Linked DNA regions of Homo sapiens: region 2 is linked to region 1. Evidence: promoter capture Hi-C in human tissues and cell types (Jung and others, 2019). All regions are on one chromosome and are shown on one strand. The core of a region is centred on a gene start or on the middle of the fragment in contact, and the rest is flanking DNA. Distances in the headings are between cores, read along the strand shown. Region 1 holds the start of EDNRB (endothelin receptor type B). Region 2 overlaps OBI1-AS1 (OBI1 antisense RNA 1).

Region 1 (7,193 bases), core at 2,840-5,339:
TGTTTCCCAATGCTTTTCAGCTTCCCACTGCAGCAACTCCAGATAAAGTCCCACCAATTCCACAGCCTGAAGACTGTAGCTTCCAATAAGAGCTATGACATTTTGTGATTTGTCAACTTTACTGAACTCTATATTCATTAAACTCTAGATTAATGGAATAGATTCACATTGACATTTCTGGGCCTCTGGGCCCTTAGTGTGCCAACAAGAGAGTAGGAGAATTTCACAAACCCCCAGAAATTGTGTATATTGAATTCTCAAAGAGAATTATAAAACCCCACCAAAAAAATTAGAAATCACTGGTTTAGATTTAAGCCTCTCATATTAGGATATATTAAATATAGCCTTCATAACTCATTTAAATTACTTTTTTCTGAATGATCATACCTGACTACTCTGAAATTCTAAATGCATTAAAAAAACTACGTTGCCACAATTATTTAGGAGAATAAATGGCTTTTAACTGGTCCTGGATTTGATATTTTGGTAAATTAAGCCATTAGAATAACTTCCACTGATATTACACACTACAGACCAGCTGAAGGGGGTTTCAAGAGACCGAAATCCTGACTCAAATTAATTTCTGAAAATGTTTACCAAGTATTCTACTGTGGGATAGCATATTATTTGCCATAATTCCACCAAATGCTCCCAAATGAGATCCTAAAACAATACTCAAGGTTGGAGATGACCATGCAGTGCCTGAGCATGCTTTGTGCAGTGGGATGGGGTGGACCACAGGGTCTTGGGCTGGATGATCTGCTTTCAAGCCCCAGTTTCATTACTTTGTAGTGGTATGACATTAGGCAAGTTACTTCTTCACCTCTCTGACAAGTAGTTTGCCTAGATCTAAAGCAGGAATGATAACGATACCTCCTCTACAGGGTTGTTATAGTGACTTAATGAAATAAACCAAGTGCCTAGTGCATCATTAACTGGTAGCCATTATTATGATATTGTGTCTCAAGCTAAACCTAAGGCCACAAGGTAGGATTCAATAATGATGACCTTAGTGATGGGACGTAATGTGATGAATGTGTTTGTGACCCATGTAGATTAATGGATGGACAGATTTATAATGACTCATTGGCTTATTTCAGAAGTAAAAACACAGTCATGTTAAGACTGGATGGCTTCAGGGAAAAGGATGTAACTTCCTAGGGAAATCATATGGGAGTTTGAAATGAAAGGGAAACTGTATGACCTCTTGGGGAGTCAGAAATTCTCTAGTTTATTACAAATACTCATTTAACCAGACAGAGGAAATAAGATGGTTCTGGAAGAGCTGATTTATATCTGTCCTGGAGGCAGCACACCAGAACTAAAAAAATGTTCTCAATCCCACCTTCTACACAGCACTTCAGCTACTGTCTGATTTAGAAAGGTTTCTAACTGGGCTGGACATGTGGGGTTTCCTGACCCCCTAAACAGAACTTTCATAAAATCCTGTGCCAACCTAGCAAAACTAGATTTTAATCTCCCTTTGGGAAGAGATCTTGTTAGATTTATTTTAAATTTATCACAACACCTTGTACTGAAAAGTTCTCAATTCGGTTTTGATGAATTGAATTGAAATTCCTTTGCCAAATTAGAATGGGAAGATTTAGTTTGTGGGACGCCTTAAGAAGTAAAAGGGTCACTTCTGGCCCTCATGGAGTTGTGGCTGCATTTAGAGATTCAATTTCAGCTCTTACCAAGTAAATCCTCACAGTTCATCAGAATCAATTGCCATACAGGATTTTAGGATTTCTTCAATCGATTCCCCCATTTCCGGGGGTGATTCCCTTTAGAGAAAACTATATCCTAATCCACTCTCACCGCTAAACCTCAGAAATGTTCGGAATTCCCCTTAAAATATAGCTATTGGGTTAGGATTTTTAGAGATTTATGAAGGGAAATTTACAGGCATGCCTTATGGTAACTACTCCTGCCAATAGGTCAAAGCATTCCCTACAACATTTCCCAACTTTACATTCCATTTTTTTCCCCTTGTACTGAAGTACTGAAGTCAGGGCTAGCTATAGGCAAATCTGCAAAGCACAATTCCATTTCCTTACACTGTGATTGTGTTTTTATGTGCAACTTTCTATTGCTGCTGCTGCTGCTGCTGCTGGGAAAGTTTTAAATATTTTCATATGTCTTTGAAATTTTCCAACTGTTTTATTTAGACTGCTTTTTTTTTTTTAACACCATAAAGCCTCAGTAAGTGGGCACTGGCAGCCTTATTGTGGAATTGAGGAAACTGAGGCCCAGAGGTGCTGGGATGTGTCTGGAGTTCCAAAGCAACCTGGAGCAACCTGGCTCTTTGTGTGTTTCTACTGACGCCCATGGTAATCACACAATAATGTTAACTACCGAAACCCTTACAGATTTTGAGTGCTCCTTGGTCTTGTCCATGAAATAATTGATGGGGTGCCATCATATAGCTTGCACTTTGGAACCTGACAGATTGGGTCTGATCCCCAGCTCCACCTCTAATTCATTTACTTTGATCATCCTACCAGTCATCTGTAAACTAATTGTAATATCTACTTGTGGGCTGCTGGAAGGAATAATGGAAGTAACACATCTCACCCAGTCCTTGGCCCACTGTAGATATTTAATACAAAGTAGCTACAGTCCGTCACAGCAGGTGAACTGTGTTTTTCCTACTCACCAGTCTGGATCTCTTTTTTCCAGGCCATTTATTTCCTAAATACCTACTTTGTACCTGCTACTTTCAAAGTCTTCCAAAACAGTCCTTCCCAAAGTTAGTGGGCATATCAATCACATGAAGATCTTAAGATGCAGATTCTAACTTAGTAAGTCTGAGGTAGCCTTGCATTCCTAACAAACTCTCAGGTAATATTGATGCTGACTGTCCATGGACCACACACTTTTGACTAGAGGATGTACCCCATTAGGTGCACTTAGGGACTAGATCCTTCAGGACTAGTGGTTCTCAAACTTTACAGTTCATCATAATCACATAAAGGGCTTGTTAAAATACAAATTACTGTGCTCCACTCCAGAGTTTCTGATTCAGTAGGTCTGGGGTGAGGCCAGAAAAATCTTCATGTGCACCAAGTTCCCAAAGTGATACTAACATTGCTAGACTGGGGACTACGCTTGTCCTAAGCTTAGCAGAGGTCTACTGAAGACCTGAATGGAATTTTATTCCAATGGTTACTGACTTTTATGAGTGGACAGAACCAAATGGAATTTGGTTCCAAAGATTACTGACTTTTAGGAGGGGCAGAACCTTAAGAGGGAGCTAAAGGGAAGCTCCCTCTACAAGCTTTCTCATCTCCCCGTCTCCAACCAGGCCCCCTTCCTCAAGCCCACCATGATTTCAGCAGGCGCCCTTTACCTTGTAGACATTGATAGGGATGTCAATGACGATGTGCAGCAGGTCTCCCAGAGCCAAGCTGGCGATCAAGATATTGGGACCGTTTCGCATGCACTTGTTCTTGTAGATAATTCTCAGAAGTGTGGAGTTCCCGATGATCCCCAGCACGAACACAAGGCAGGACACAACCGTGTTGATGTATTTGAAAGTCTCCTTGATCTCGATGGGTCCTTGGCACGGGGGAGGGGAGATGGTGCGTGGCGGAGATCCTGCCGTCCTGTCTCCTTTAGGCACCTCCGCAGGTGCCAACGACCGCGCCAGACTGGCGTTGGAACCCTTGGGCCATAAGGTCTTAGTGGGTGGCGTCATTATCTCTGCGGTTTGCAAAAGCGGAGTGGCCCTGTCAGGCGGGAAGCCTCTCTCCTCTCCCCAGATCCGCGACAGGCCGCAGGCAAGAACCAGCGCAACCAGGGCGCGTCCGCACAGACTTGGAGGCGGCTGCATGCTGCTACCTGCTCCAGAAGGCGTCCGGTGGCCGCTCCGCAGTTTCAGAGCCTAGAGACAAGCAGAGGAAGGAAGACAGGACACTTGGGTCAGCTGCCCGAGCCAAGTCGCTGCAAACGCTAATACCGCCCGCAGCCTCTTCGCCAGTATCCACGCTCAAAAGTAACTCAAGTTTGCGCGCCAGTGGGAAACTTGGCGCTCATGACTCGCCAGCGCGGGTCGAAACTCCTTCCTGATGCCCTCTCAGCTGTTTTTCTTCCCCCGCGTGGCCAGGAGGGGTAAATAATATGCAGTGGGGCGGGGCGTTCTGGAAGGGGTGTGCCAGGGAGGGAATGATGGGGGTCCCAGGCAAAGCTCCGAACTCTTTCACGTAACGGGAGGAATACAGACACGTCTTAGTTAAGCGTGCGTGGGAACCGCGGAATTAAGGCACCTAGAGGCCAAGGGCTTGTGTCAAGCTCTGCATTTTGCCCCGCAGGGGAACCTCTATACCCCGCGATTGAACTCGAAAGACTCCTCCCGGCGGATGAAAGCCGCTACTCCCTGGCTGGCTGAGCTACAGCTCCCGCAGCGCGCCCAGGAGTGCGCCGGAGATTCGGAAACCCGCAGAGACTTCTCAAGTCAGCAGGAACTTGGAAACCGCTGTTCCCTCCAAACGGCTTCAAACACTCGCGCTCCTTCCTTTACCCAACCTAATTTTAATTTGCCCTCTCTATAGGCTTAATTTTTATTTTTTTAAAATCCCAAACTAGTAAGCCAAACCGAAGCCCCAGAATAAGGTTCAATCAATGATTTTAATTCAACACCAAGCCCGAATGTTTACCTCTCGGATCTGACAAACCAGATGCAGAGCGACGAATGGAGACCACCTTCCCGGGAGGCGGAACCCAGCTGGGTTCCAGCCTGCTCTGGGAGAGGAGCACGCCTCCCTTGAGCTGCAGGCGGGTCCGGCTCTGACGAAACGCTGCGAGAATGCCAGACAGTGTAGCCTCCACCGTTTGCTCGGGGTCTCTGCTGCCATCAGACAAGTACTTTTATTCATTCATCCCTTCCCATCAATCACCGCCAGACTCCTCCCGCGCCTTCCGACCCCGCTGCAACCTTTCCCCTTGGGCGATGCCTGGACAGCATCAGTAGTAGTTGCCCGAGGGAGGGGGGCAGTCCTCGTCCGGGGACAGGTCCCAAAAGGCTGTTTATTTGTTAGAGTTCTACGCTCTTCAAATGAACCCAAATCAAGGGCAAGTTATCACGCACCATGTGACACCCGGCAGCTCCAGACTAGAACAAGGCTCTGCACTGAACGTGATAATTGAACTTTTAATGCCAAGTGTCACTTTTCTTTCAGGTAAATGTTCCGCCGCTGTGATATTTAAGGTTGGTTTGTGGGCGCTGCTCTTTGCTCTGCTTCATTTTGCCCTGAAGTTTCATTTCAAGCCAACATTAACCCCAACACGGAACAGCTCGATCTTTTCTTCCCAGGCCCTCTCACTGCCCCGAGAGAGGATTACAAGTACTCCTCATTTTCCCCAGTACAGCTCTTCTCCTCTCTTCCTGCCACAGTATCGGTGTTAGGCAATCTCAGGCATTTTTATACTGTACCTATGACAGACTTGATGCTTATCGGAGACATGAAAATAATCAGAAAGCTGCCATGCAAATTCAACATGATATTTATTTACCAGGTAGAGCAATACAATAAGGTCTTTCTATCCATTCTTGAGCTCCATGTTTACCGCAGAGAGGAAAATAACAGCGACTGGTAGTTTTGCCCAGAGATTGTATAAAAGAGGTCAGGAAGTCAGGCTTGGAGATGCACTGGAGAGTACTGTGCCGTCCTCCAATCAGCAAAATCCCTACTGGATCTGTGGAACTTCAAACCCAGAAGCACCCATTCCATGTAGCAGTTTCACCCAGAGACAGGAGGCTCGTTTTTTGCTTCATGTTAGTTAATGGAATAGATGGGACAAGAACCTTGGATTTTTGGCTCTTAGGCAATGCTTTCTGGGACAGTGGAAGTAGAAAATCAATTTCTATTTAAAAAGGTGAACTTTAAGTGTGAAATGTGGTTAGGAACATGGTTACGGAGTAAGGCTAAAGGAATGAGAAATATGGTCTAGGGTTGTGAGTGCTAATTCCAAATCTGGCTATTTTGAATTGCAGTCCTTATCCTCCCTGTCTCGTAAGAACGAGGTCAACATTCAATTGCTGAGCCAAGTAACAATATACAATGTTGTCTGAATAAGGAATTATATGGAAGCTTTGGAATATGAATATTTTGCTTAGTTGACTCCACCCAGTGTTGGATCTGCCCTTCCTATACAAGCTTTGTTGGGTTCATGCCTATGGCTCCTGTGGGGTGACTTTTCTCTCTCCCCACTGGCCTTCTCATCATCTCCATCTCCATTCAAATTTCCTCCACTGAGTCCTGGAAGTCTGCTCTAATCCTCACTGAGGTCTATCTCTTTACTTTTCTTGGAGCACTTTTGGACTGTTAACCACAACTTAGCAAGCACTTGATCACATAAGAGACATCTATGGGTCACTATTGATTTCGTGTGACTTAATTTCTTTTACAGGACAGGGACTTGAATGAGTTATATGTTCTTTCTGCACCATCCCACTACCTGCCACAAAATGAGCTTAAGAAATATTTTTTATAAATTGATAATGATATTTTAAAGTATTCAGTTATACTTTATTAACTGGTCATTGGGCTCAAGAATAAGGCCAAACAATTTTAAGGTAAATATACACATTCCTCATTTGGAATTTAAAACACAGTATCAGCTACTCCTTACAGGGTCTACCACCTGCATTAGACACCTTTTCACAGTACCTCATTGATTCTCTGATGTTTGTCTTCCAGCTCTGTATTATTTTCTATGATGTTATAGGCAGTGAAACTGAGTCTCAGTAATTCACTTAAGGTCATGTGGCTAGTTAGTTGTGGGACCAGGATTTGGAGCTAGGATTTGAATGCATGTCTAAATGGTTACACAGACTATGCTTTTTATTATTGTAATTGCAGAAAGCCTAAGCAAATTTTTTTCTTATTTTGGGGAAACAGTGTTCTAGACATCAGTAATATGCAATTGAAGTTTAACCTTAAATATTTCACCTTAACATGTAAAGACAACCATGTGAAATGTAAAGAATTGTTCATTGATCTTCATGAATGACTGGGTGTCAGTTTCCCCTTTTGTAAAATGGAAGAAAAGGATTAAAGTTACTTCTTGCTCCAATAAATCAGTCCGACTGACAAACTGCCTCTGTAGGAGTGTCTTAAAGTGCAGAAAAGTGGAAACAGATTCTAGGCCAATATTTTTTTTTAATGTTACTTTCATTACTCATGCCTTGAGCA
Region 2 (7,193 bases), core at 2,976-5,475, 270 kb after region 1:
ATAATATTCTCAGCAGACTAAACTTCTACCTTTGTCAGATATTAAAATGTCCTATGAATGTAGGTTTATTTTTAAAATTGCTAGGCTCTTCTACAAACATTTGTCTATTTTTTGCCAATATCATAATTATTTAAAGTGAATTTATAATCAATTTTGATATGGTGGCTTGCAATAAAATTCCTCTGTAGTGTGATGGTGTCATTTCACTGTCTTCTCCTCTCGGGTGTTGCTGATGAAGCTCAATGTCTTTCAGTTTCTTTTTCATTGTAACTTGTTTCACTTGAAAGTTTTAAGATTATCCCTTTCTCCTTAGAGTTCAGAAATATTTTCTAAATTTTTTTTTCCTACATGTGTATCTTTTCTTCTCAATCTACCAAGAGACTACAGGGATTTGTTATGTAATTTATAGAACATTTTCTCTATCATGTCTTTAATCATTCCTCTTTTGTCCCAGTTCTTACATTGCCTTGTAGAAATTCTCTTACTTGCATGTTTGGTCTCTTAGACTTCTGAAAGTATTATCTTTCCCCTCATTCTCATTTCTTCATGTTCTTGCCCTCTATGTTGGGACATAGTTGACTCCCTTGATCGTCTGGGTCACTTCTACATATCTCCTTTGATTCATGTATTAAATTACTTATTTCCACAGTCTCCCAAGTGCTGTACTTGAATTTCTTGAAGGGTTCTTATTAATTCCTTACTCAAGTTGTCAAGTCTTTACTCTAACTGCTCTATTGGCCCGGCACGAGTTCTGTTGTTCTGATGTATTTTCCTTGAATGGATTGTTAGTTTTCTTTCTTTGCTTACTGGAACTTGGGTCTTTGTGTTAGAGTTTCCAAGAGAGGACAATCACTAAGGCAGGAAGTCATCACAGACCCACAGTGCCTCCCCTTTCCCCAGACTGGGAGTGTAGAAATAGGCCAACTGTCTCCTGCCTTCTGTCAAAGCACCCCAAGGAAGTGTCTCTGTTCCCTCTGGTTCTTGATCTTCTAGACATAGAGGACAAATAGGCAGCTCCTCTGGGCCTCCCAAGGGCAGGAACAATAAACACATCCATATGACTATCTGATGGTCCTCATTGCTGCTGTTTATGCTCACAGCTGTCCTTGATAACCTCTGGTTATCCACAGAGGTTGTACTATTATATGGTATGAAGCCAGAAAAGTTGATGGGGTGTGATACTTTGATGAGATCAAAACTAGCACTCCTGACTGCATTCTGGACTCTCCTCTGCTGCCCATTCTTTAAACTTCCCTGTCCATTGATTGTGTAAATCTTAGTGCAATCTGTGGATTCTGAATGTGTTTCAATGCTTCTGTGTTAATGGAGACTTATTAGAAAGAAAGGTCTTTAAAGGCAGGAGTTATATGTTCTATTTGATTGAACTCAAAGAACATATGCAGTGCTCTGTACTAGTGGATATTGAATCAATGCTGTTGGCTGACTGAAATAGCTTCAATATGGCTAGGTTAGTGGGAAAGAGGAGTGGTTCTTTCATTTTCTTTTACTGCACTACAGTTTTTGTTTTACTTTATGAACATATTCAATGATTTAGGTTTTCTCAATAATATTTGAGTATCTGCATTTTAAAAAAATGTAACTAGTGTCAATATAAGAAGGTTATATTAGATATTTTCTCTCTGATTTATATTTAATAAAAGGGGCTTTATATTGTGCTAATGATTTAGTAGATATTGCATTTTTTTTCTTGAAGAGGTGAGATTATAATGAAACACAAATAAAATTTGAAGTTCCAGAGGTCTAGTCTTTGTAAGCTTTTCTTTTATAAAATGAATTCTATTTGCACCAAAATGAATGGTAAAAGCTTTATTTGTATGTATTTTTTGTTTTATTTTGTTTTTCGTTATACTCCTCTCAGCTCATACCTAGTAAGAGGCCTTTAAACTACTAAGCTAGTATGTGTGTGCTTTTTTAGTTATCTACCAATTCCTGCATGACAATCAAAATATTCCCATGGATAATGAACAGGTGAAGTAAAATATTTTTTACTTCAATATTTTTTTACAAAATAATGACACACTGAAAAATTGGTTTATTAGCCACACAGCAGTGTTCTAGAACCCTCTTGGATTATTTTAGGCTCATTAAAATAGTACTATTATTGTAACAAGAAACCCATATGTACAAAAACATTGAAAGGATGCTTCCTATTTGTGAATATCAAGTCACTTTTCTTTTCCAGCGTTATTATCCTCCACTTGGAGAGCATAAAGGGAAATGCCATGAGGTTAAGAGACTTCCTTATGGCCAACAGTTAATCTGTTGCAGGGGTCAAAAGAGAACTTCCCATGCAATAGTCTGGCCTTGCTAATACATAGACATGATTCCTTCATGTAGGGCAGCTTGGACTGAAAACACTACAGGGGGGAAATAAATAAATAAAACGTGAGCGCTATGTGGCCAAGTTGCTTCTTTGTTTGCTGAAAGACAACGCAAGACAAAGGAGGCTCTATGTTCCACAGGAAGTAAGGAGGCAAATTTGCTCATTTGTCTTCAGAACACACATGCTTATTGCTACCTGCATTCAGTTGACATATACGCCATCCAAATGTACTTCATGCTCAGACTACAGTCACGTACCATTCTCCAACTATATGAACTGTTCAATTTTAGATGTGTGAACCTCCAGAACTGTGAAATAAACAACCTCAGTCAACATCAAGCAGAATTCAAAGAAGTCTAAAGTCTTAATAATTGTCTGTTCAGTCTGGGAGGAAAGGACTAAAATGGCATGAATCCAGGTAGGCGGAGATTTCCCCCTCCTGCTTGCTACATAGGATAGCACATGAGAATCCATAGTTAGGACTTTAAACAAACAGAGTTACCAGTGAGAAAGGAGGAAGATGTTTTCTGAAGGAGAAAAAAGTGTAGAAGTTTTAGCTCAACTGCTAAATTTGAAATGTTGGCTTACTCATAAGACACAAATGGAAGAGGCTATTTCTTTAAAATCACAGCTGGAAAGAACTTTTTTTTATGCTAGAAAAAATTGACCAAGTTTATGGAAAACAAAACTAAATAGGAATTATTAACAACTTCAACATACCCAGAAGTCTTTTACTGAGTTAGAAAAGAGCATGATAGAGAACAAATGTTATGAGAGAAAAAGACCGCTAACAATGATATTAAATGGGCCCACTTTTCCTCAAAATCTTGCAGTTCTCTGCAGTAGAATACTCACATACATACCCAGTATTCATTGTTATGGATCCTACTTGCTACAGACAGGGTCTTTATCCTCATTCATAATGTTTCTGTCTTGCCGTACTTTAGGGTGCAAGGGTCATAAGGGAGCCTCCTCTGCTCGTGCACACTGGACAGCCTTGTTCCTAGTCTCCCACAGTGCCCTGGCATACCTCTCTCATAGCTCTCCAACCATGATCAGTGGGACTGGGCAATGCCTCAGATTAGACTAGAAGCTCCCTGATAGCAAAGAGCCTGTGTGATTCTTCTCTGTACTCTAAGTTCCTTGCATAGCACATAGCAAAGATAAAGCACTCAAACATATTTGAACTAAAGGGAGAATCAATTTGTTCTACCACAAGTGAAAGGTGAAGTTTACTGTAAATGTGATGACTGTTGAACCAAATCTAAATAGCCTAAGCTGTAATTAACAGCCTTCATTTGGTTTGTAAAATGTTACCTTGATTTCTTTATTGCATAACATTCTCCAAGTTTTCAAAGTTTGGATCAGAAATCTGCACTTGCAGGATTTCTCCTTTCTTCATCTAAAAGTAGAGCACATATTCTTAAATCTTACCCCTCTCAAGTGAGTTCTTTTTCTTCTTGTCCAAATTGTGTGTGGGGTGGGGTGGGGGCACAGCCCGGATTTTCCTTATTTCAGTCAACAGTCTAAATTCAAGGGTCCAGACACTTAACAAATAGCTTCAAAATGTCCTTCACATTTTCTCATAGGTGATCCACCCTACCACATATTGTCTCCTAATGGCCGTCCAGTTTATCCTGGAGCCCTTGCATGACACAGGCCTATCGAAGCATAGGAGGTAAGTATCATGAAGATTCAGGGTCCTGTTACACTGGCGATGTTTTCAGTGTATCAGTGGCATAGGGTGTGTCAGACAATCTCCTATAAGACAAATGACAGATCATTACATCTCACACCTCTTACCCTGAGAAAGAAATGCAGAAGGCAGTGACCTCTGAGTTGATTACTACATGATAATTAAAGGGGAATGAAAGATGGCATTCTTGACCAAGTAAAGAGCATAAGTCAAGGTCTAAAGGTATGAAACAGCCTGATTTCTATAGGGAAGCAAAAGCAATTTGATATAATTAGAGTATAAACTGCAAGGCAAGAAGTGTTGAGAGAGGTGATTAGAAAGACAGAGCTGAAACAACAGGCTTAACCACTGAAGGGTCTTAAGTAGGAGACCCTTTCTTGGTCTTTCCAGAAAGCAGAAACTGAGGCGATGTTTGTGGGCTACAAATTTCCTGAAAATGTTATCACAGAAAATTAGGTGTGAGGGAAAAAGGAAGCAACACAGGGCAGAAGGAAGACTGAAGTGAGGATGCTACTGAGCTATCCAGTACAACTGGTCACTTCGTCTTGCAAGATGGTCTTCTGAGAAATAACAAGAAAAACTGAATCTAAAGATAGCCTGTTCAGAAGAGAAGGGAATAGGAATTTTATCTGCCACTTTTCAATTTCCATTTGTCAGGATTTCACCTCGTTGCGTATCAGGGCTTTATATTTCCTTGGTGTGTCAGGATCAAGTACTCAATAGTGTACCAGGAGCTGTTTCTCAAACAGTGAGAATTTCTGTGACTCAGAAGGTATAGTCTTGCTCCAGAAACTGAGGTATTTGCATTGTTACCCTCCTACTGAGGGTTATCAGTTACTCCACACAGCATTTTTACCTATCAGAAGCATCTCTACTGCCATCAAAACTTCAGGGTCATAGAGTATGTTTGTGTGGAACCTTAGGTCATAGTCTGACTTACTGCAGAAACCTCTCTTGCTGGCTGTCTTCTGAATAAATCAATTGGATTTGCATTAACAAAGGTATTCTTTGCTACCTACAAACTCCAAAGAATTCAACAAATGTTCTACTTTTCCTTATCAGAAGGAGATTTATATTAGAGACTATTAGGGATAGGAAAAAAAGTGTTTCTCCTACTCTCACAAACCACTCAACACCACACTTCTGACACCAGATGTGTGAGGATTATTTCCCCATACACAAAGTACTTCTTCAGCAGACACCAGCTGGGTGTGCTGTAATTCAATTCTGACACTATTTTCCTGTACATAGTGTTAGATCTCACAGATTGAGGATTCAGTTCCACAAGACTCACACCTCCCCACATCAGATACCAACTGCAAGTCCCATGTTGTGACCTGTACTTCTGACAGACCAGCTACAAAATGCAGGCTCTTATGACTCCCTCCTCAGGTTTGAATAATTTGCTAGATCAGCTCATAGAACTCAGGGAAACACTTTACTTACACTTGCACCCACTTATTATAAAGTATATTACAAAGGACTCAGATGAGTATCCAGCCAGTTGTAAGAGAAGCATAAAGCATGGCATATGAGAAGGGGTATGGAGCTTCCATGCCCCCTCCACTGCACCACTCTGCAAGACCCTCCACGTGTTTAACTATCTGAATTCTCCTGAACTCTGCCGTTTTCAGTTTTTATGAAAGCTTCATTACGTAGGCATGACTGACTATATCGTTGTCTATTGGTGATCTCTCAGCCTTCAGCCCTCTCTCTCCCTTCCAGAGATTGGCAGGTGGGGCTAAATGCCTTGGGTTTTCTGGTGGCCATCCCCTACTGTGATGTTTCCTAGGAGCCCTCAGCTACCAGCCACCTCATTAGCATACAAAGACACTCATCACTGGAGATTCTAAGGGTTTTAGGAACTGTGTGCCAGGAAATGGGGATGAAGACCAAATATATATTTCACAATATTACAGAGATGATGTCTTTACATATCTAAGACCACTGAGCCACCAAAACTTCAACTTGTGTGACAGGGCCCTGAATCTTTGTCAAGTTTATCTTCAACTTCTGCCAAGCATGTGTCATATTAGGACCTTAAGATACTTACCACTTTCTACTCACCATGTTCAAATAGCATTCTGCCACTAGTATAGTGGATCTATACGACGTTCTGAGGAATTCAAGATATCTAATGTTCCTGAAAACTATATTTTGACAGAAAGCTGAACAGTAGGTCTGGAGCAAGAGAGTAAATATGTACTATCATCTTTTCTATGTAAAAGTGAACTTCTTTGTCTCCCTATTGATGGGGTTAAAAAAATGCATTTGCCAGATTAACATCTGCAAACCAAGTGTCATTGGCTGTGTTGATCTAGTACCACAGCTGCTTTACTTTTAAATTTATGATAGTCCATTTTCATCCATCACAATACATCCGTTTTGTGTGGTGGCTAGATGAATGACAATATCATAAAGGACCACTACTCAAATCTTTTAAGCCTATTAAGGAAATGCTTCTCTGTATTTCCTCGCAGGATTCAGTTTTTCTTCTGATTATCTATTTTGACTAGGAGCAGAAACTTTCATGTCTTTCAGTTGCCTTTTTATTTTTTTTAAATCATAGGGCCCTTATTCCACCGGTCAGGGCAGTCCTTTCCAGTTTTTAAGTCTATGTATCAAAATTGTATACTTAGGAATTCAGGAATTAACCAAAGGATGAGTTTCAGGACTTGTTGTGCCCATTGTTAGCTTAAATCAAAACTTTAAAATTTATCCTCTATAAGCCCCTTTTCTCACCAGAAGATCACAGTGGCATTCCAGGTCCCTTGGTATCACCTCAGACCCTATAACAGTTGATTAAAAATGTAGATATTGTTCTTTCTTAGTATATAGTTATTATGATACATGATGTTAGGTCAGCAATTTGAGGAAGAAGCAGAATATTCAATGTATATACCTACAATGGTGTTGCAAGATACTTATACAAGGGAACCATGTTTTCCCTTTAATCAGTGAGCACTGGATCCGGAAACTTGCTTAAATTTGGAAAATTAACAAAAGACCGTGGTTTTACACACTAGTGGCTGATACCAGAATTCTGCCAGCTAGTTCTCATTTTTTAAAATTATATGGTTTGATAAAACCTCTGGCCACTGTTCACTATTTGCCTCCAGATTCTGCATAATCCCTTAGCTATGCCACAGATTC

What was found. Contacts are between HindIII fragments. The study calls those that stand out against the background at their distance.
Region 2: a fragment that was not itself captured here is called in contact with the fragment with the promoter of EDNRB in region 1 in 2 of the 25 tissues and cell types used here (H1 embryonic stem cells and bladder).

The regions. Positions count from the first base shown.
Region 1 is chr13:77,914,742-77,921,934 of GRCh38, forward strand. It overlaps EDNRB (endothelin receptor type B), which reads right to left and starts at 4,090. Exons shown (of 7, transcript NM_001122659.3): 1 at 3,350-4,090. The coding sequence starts at 3,832. RefSeq lists promoters at 4,019-5,091, 4,081-4,195 and a cis regulatory region at 4,447-4,456. The HindIII fragment of the contact is 11,006 bases long and covers 439-7,193 here.
Region 2 is chr13:78,185,675-78,192,867 of GRCh38, forward strand. It overlaps OBI1-AS1 (OBI1 antisense RNA 1), which reads left to right. Exons shown (of 6, transcript NR_047001.1): 2 at 3,934-4,022. Among named protein-coding and RNA genes, the nearest start is that of OBI1-AS1, 130 kb to the left of the region's middle. The HindIII fragment of the contact is 4,851 bases long and covers 1,801-6,651 here.